Regions from separate parts of the Homo sapiens genome. Here region 1 is linked to region 2. Evidence: promoter capture Hi-C in human tissues and cell types (Jung and others, 2019). All regions are on one chromosome and are shown on one strand. Each heading gives the region's core, a stretch centred on a gene start or on the middle of the fragment in contact. The rest is flanking DNA. Distances are from core to core; before and after follow the strand shown.

What was found. The method cuts DNA at HindIII sites, captures the fragments that hold promoters and counts their contacts. A contact is called where the count stands out against the background at its distance.
Region 1: the fragment with the promoter of CCL27 here is called in contact with a fragment that was not itself captured in region 2 in 3 of the 25 tissues and cell types used here (H1 embryonic stem cells, pancreas and spleen).

What each region holds. Positions count from the first base shown.
Region 1 is chr9:34,661,273-34,664,024 of GRCh38, forward strand. It overlaps CCL27 (C-C motif chemokine ligand 27), which reads right to left and starts at 1,385. Exons shown (of 3, transcript NM_006664.4): 1 at 1,292-1,385; 2 at 1,012-1,144; 3 at 618-807. The coding sequence starts at 1,361. The coding sequence ends at 672. It overlaps IL11RA (interleukin 11 receptor subunit alpha), which reads left to right. Exons shown (of 13, transcript NM_001142784.3): 13 at 210-630. The coding sequence ends at 226. The HindIII fragment of the contact is 14,352 bases long and covers 1-2,752 here.
Region 2 is chr9:34,447,100-34,449,799 of GRCh38, forward strand. The region is part of intron 1 of FAM219A (family with sequence similarity 219 member A); the gene reads right to left. Among named protein-coding and RNA genes, the nearest start is that of FAM219A, 10 kb to the right of the region's middle. The HindIII fragment of the contact is 5,527 bases long and covers 1-2,700 here.

The DNA of each region.
Region 1 (2,752 bases), core at 135-2,634, 210 kb after region 2:
GTCCCCTCCTTCATTCTTAATGTGCCTGGGCCCAGAGCTAGGTCCACTCCCGTATCTTCAGTGTGTTGAAGAGGCTCCCTCAGAGCTGGGCTCCTCTACTCATCTTCAGAGTGTTAAGCTTAGAACTGAGTCACCTCCCTCATTCTCAGGGTGTCTGGGCCAAGATCCGGTCTTACTGTCTCTCCTGATTTGCCTCCTGCTTCTTCTAGGAGCTCCAAACCTGTAGAGGACCCAGGAGGGCTTCGGCAGATTCCACCTATAATTCTGTCTTGCTGGTGTGGATAGAAACCAGGCAGGACAGTAGATCCCTATGGTTGGATCTCAGCTGGAAGTTCTGTTTGGAGCCCATTTCTGTGAGACCCTGTATTTCAAATTTGCAGCTGAAAGGTGCTTGTACCTCTGATTTCACCCCAGAGTTGGAGTTCTGCTCAAGGAACGTGTGTAATGTGTACATCTGTGTCCATGTGTGACCATGTGTCTGTGAGGCAGGGAACATGTATTCTCTGCATGCATGTATGTAGGTGCCTGGGGAGTGTGTGTGGGTCCTTGGCTCTTGGCCTTTCCCCTTGCAGGGGTTGTGCAGGTGTGAATAAAGAGAATAAGGAAGTTCTTGGAGATTATACTCAGAAATTATTATCCAATGCTGCTTTATTATTTGGCTATTGGGGGCTTCAGCCCATTTTCCTTAGCATCCCAAAATTCAGCTTGGGCAGAGTCCCATGGAGCTTTCTCTCTTGGTGCTCAAACCACTGTGACAGGCTGGGGTTCTGGGGGTGGATGCAGATGCTGCGTTGAGCCAGGTGAAGCCTGGGTAGAGAAAGGTCCAAAGCTATGACCATAGCTTGGGGATGAGATTAGGGTCATCCCCAATGACCCTAATTAGGGGTTAGGAGCAAGGACCAGATGAAAACCTGAGTTGGCAACAGAATTAGCAGTTAGGGCTGGGGTTGGGATCAGCATTAGGGGTTGGGACTGAGGTCAGAGTCAGGGGTATCAGGGGTGGGAGCTCACACGAAAGCCTGGAGGTGACAGTCCCCGTCAGCCTCCTGCAGTTCCACCTGGATGACCTTCCTCAGTAGCTTGTCTGAGAGTGGCTTTCGGTAGAGCTGAGTACAGCAGGCAGTGCTGGGTGGCAGTAGGAATGCTAGGGGCAACAGGGCCATGTGTTCAGAGGGATCCTGACCAAGAACCTCTCTGCCAGACAGCTGGAGGTTAGGTTGGATTTCCTGGGTCTTTTCAACTTCATCCCATTCACCCAGACCCCCAGCTTTCTATACCCCCAAGTACTCACCTGCTGTAGGGTCTGGGCTCAGGAGCAATGACAGCAGCAGGAGGCTGCAGAAGGTTGGGGGCCCCTTCATGTTGCTCAGCCTAGACTCTTCCTTCTCTCTCTCTCCTCCTCCCCTACCTTTTATCTGGGTGCCTTTTACCTGGGGCACTAGGTGAGTCAGAGGCAGTTGGAGATGTACTGTGTAACCTGTGACACTCCTGGGCCCTAATTCTCGGCCTGTTGCCACAGACTCCTTCCTCATCTAGGATAGCCATTTCCCATGTGCTCCTAAGCTCTGGGCAGTGAAGCTGGGGGAAGGATTAGTGTGTGATGTAGGGACTGATGGAACAGTGAGTAAGGGCAGTCAAGCATCCACAGCAGCATCTAATGATAGACATTCACACTCAAATACGCATAGCCACACATTCAAAGTCACTCCTCAATCACTTGGTCAACCTCACAAAGTCATACTCATGATCAGACAACCGTAGACAAAATTATATAGCCCCGGTTATACTCAAAGTCCCTCTCCCACCCAATTGTGTTTTCACAGTCATCCAATCACAAGCAAATTCACACTAGCACACACAGATTCTGACAGGGGAGTTGTGGGTGGGGTGGGAGCAGAGGGCAGGCAAGCACCAACTTGCCTTCACCTTCTCCTCCCCACTTCCTGGCTTGGCCTGCCTGTCTTATCAGAAGAAATGGATGGGAATGGGTCCCTAGAGCAGGCCCTTCTGGCTGAGGAGGGTTCTTGGCTGAGGCCAGCCCCATTCAGAGAAGCTGGGGGAAGGCCCTTTATGGTAATATTAAGGGTGTTTTGGAGATGCTGAGGTGGGGCAGCTTTCCCCAGGATGATGAGACAGGGAGGAAAGGTGGGGTAGATAAGGAGGGAAGATAAAAGCTCTTTGGTGCTAGGTTACTGTTGTCAAAACAGGTAAAAGGCCCAGTGAATCTTACCTTCCTGTTTTTGTCTAGTCCTGTTCCAGGAATGCCAACCTCTTGCCAGCAGGGGCCTAGGGTCTCCAGATCCAGTCCCTGACTTGTTGAAGACATTGGACTCAAGCACTCAATTACATCTTTGTTTTACTCAAATTCCAGCCTCCTTCCTGGGCCTGGAGGAACATCCCCTCTCCCTACCCGGGTTCAGTCACACCCTCATGTCCAACTGCTATACCCCCTGCATCCCACCCTCCAGCTATAGCCGCTTCTCTCCTAATCCCATACCCAGCTGTCACTCCGTTCTTTACCCCCTCCCTGCAATGCAAAGCTCCTATTCATCTTTATCCAGTCCTTTCCAGGAAGCTGGGAGCTGCCTAGGGTGGGGGTATGCTGCCAAGTTCAGTGCCCCTGGCTCCTTTAAGAATTTCCCACTCCTGGTCCAGGGATCTCAATCTGCAAGTCCTGCTCTATATTTGAAACATAAACCAAGTCATAACACAGTAATCCAGCCCTTATCTTGTTGCAGTCGTCTGCTGTAGG
Region 2 (2,700 bases), core at 148-2,647:
CTGAGAATAAGAGTCACATGACACACATGTAGTGTAGTTTCTAACAAATGTGGAACCATCATCTCACTATCCTCAGTGGACTCTTAACCTGTATTGGCAGTAAGCCTAGCTCAAGATGTGATTCCAGGTTCTTGCCTTGATTTTACACTGCTAAGGGAAAGGGCTGCTCTGTTCCAGATATGTTCTGAGTTCAATATAACAATAGGTATGGTTATTAAATATGATCATGGAAGCTCAACTGACAATAATAGAAGTACAATATCAATATTATGGGTAGTGGCAGTCCCACAATAATCTGTGCTGTGCAGATCACATGTACAGCTCTGTGTTCAGTTTCAGGGGTGAGAAACCTAAAAGTATCCACTAGGGCAGCTAGGATGACTGCGAATTTGGAAGCCAGTGTCCCGGGAAATGGTAAAAGGAAAAAGCAGGCCTATTTAGCCTGGGTAAACAAAAGAGCGCTAAGGCTGTATAACCTATAATAGGGCCTTTCCTCGCCAGTGACTTCTGGCTTATGGGTCTCTTCTTGTAGCCTATTCCTTCTTGCTTCTTTGGTCAAGGGCTTATAATTTCATATTAAGTGTGGCCAACCACTCATATGAAATTCATGAGATCTTTTCCTGAATCTGCTTCTTTCCCCCTCTTATCTGCTCAGCAGAGTCCAGGTTACTCCCTCTCACCTGGCCTATTTATTTCAAAAGGATTTTAAACTTTATATTAATTCAATACTTCAGAAACCAGTGCTGAAGATCAAGTAGAAAAAAACAGTTTTCTTCATTTTTTTTTTTTTAAGACAGGGTCTTGCTTTGTTGCCTAGGCTAGAGTGTAATAGTGCAATTATAGCTCATTGCAGCCTCGAACTCCCGGGCTCAAGCCATCCTCCCACCTCAGCCTCCCTAATGGCTAGGACTACAGGCATGCATCATCATGCCTGGCTACTTTTTAATTTTTTGTAGAGACAGGGTCTCACTATGTTGCCCAGGCTGGTCTCGAATTGATGGCCTTAAGCAATCCTCCCGCCTTGGCCTCTCTAAGCACTGGGATTACAGGCATGAGCCACTGCACCTGGCCCCTTTATTCATTTCTTAAGGAGCCATATGATAAGACTTTAGCCCCTCAGTGAAACAGATTGCTTGGCTGGCTAACATCCCCAAGAGTTCCCCTTTCCTGTGTTCTTTGCCCAAGATAACTATGATGATTCAGGGCCGCTGGGATGGCAACCAGAATACTAGAACTGTTGTTCCCCCTGCTGAAGACCATAGCAGACATGGAAAATCAACCAAACCATGTCAGTCTTTCATATGGAACCAGGAGTCCACCTTAGCATCCATCTTAACACAATGCTCCAGGCAGCAACTACTGATCAAGGGGCATTGGCATGAAGGGTAATGCCTGTTTATCATCCATGCTTTATGTAGCCTGTGGAGTAGGAGGGTATAAAATAATTATGCAGGAATGTTTCTTGAGCTGTTGTGAACAGTGAGAACATTTATTGATACTGCAGAGGAAGTACTGAAACATCCCCTAATCGGGGAATCCACTTTTCACCTTAAATCTCAATTGAGATGGGATTCTTCCTGATAAAAGATTTGGATTATCTTTATCTTCTCTACTGCTTGGCAGAACATAAAAGCATAGAGCACAGCCCAAGGTAAAAATGAGAAATAGAACTAGGCCATGGTGGGAGCTAAGCTATGAGGACACAAAGGCATAAGAATGATATAATGGACTCTGGGGACTCACAGGGGAAGGGTGGGAGAAGGATGAGGGATAAAAGACTACATGTTGGGTACATTGTACACTGTTTGGGTGACAGGTGCACCAAAATCTCAGAAATTACTACCAAAGAACTTATCCACATAACCAAAAACCACCTGTTCCCCAAAAACTATCGGAAAAAAAAAAAAAACCTCAGCCATGGGATAGCCACACTGGTTTAAAAGTAAAGTACTAGCTGGGTGCAGTGGCTCACACCTGTAATCTTAGCACTTTGGGAGGACATGGCAGGTGGATCTCTTGAGCCCAGGAATTTGAGACCAACCTGGGCAACATGGCGAAACCCCATCTCTACCAGAAAAAAACAAAAATTAGCTGGGCATGGTGGTGCACACCTGTAGTCCTAGTTACTTGGGAGGCTGAGGTGGGAGGATCACCTGAGCTGGGGAAGGTCAAGGCTGTAGGAGACAGAGTGAAACTGTGTCTCAAAAAACAGTAAAGTACTAAATGGCTAGTGTATACAATATATAAATTATATCTCAATAAAGTTGTCCAAAAAAAATAAGGATCAAACCAGCATTTGGTAGAGGGACATAAGGGAAATAAAACTCCCTTAGAAATATTATGAGAAAAACAAGGCACTTGGTATTTGCCTGTGCACCTAACCAAAGTTCACCAAGAGCTTCCTACTAATAGCAAGTTCAGACCCTGAAACAAATCAGCAACATCCCATTAGACACTAACTAGCATAGGGCAAAATGGTGTGGGTTATAAAAGACATTTAAAAGAACTAGGAAGACTATAAATCTAGACTGGATCAGCACAGATACTAATTTCTAAGCTAAAGTTTTCCAAAGAGTATTTCCCATGAAACACATTGGTTCTGTAAGATGTTAACAGATGTAACATGAAAAAAGGTTCTATAGTTAAATAAGCTTGGGAAACACTGAATTAAACAAAGTTGAAAAGGTTCCTTTACTGCAG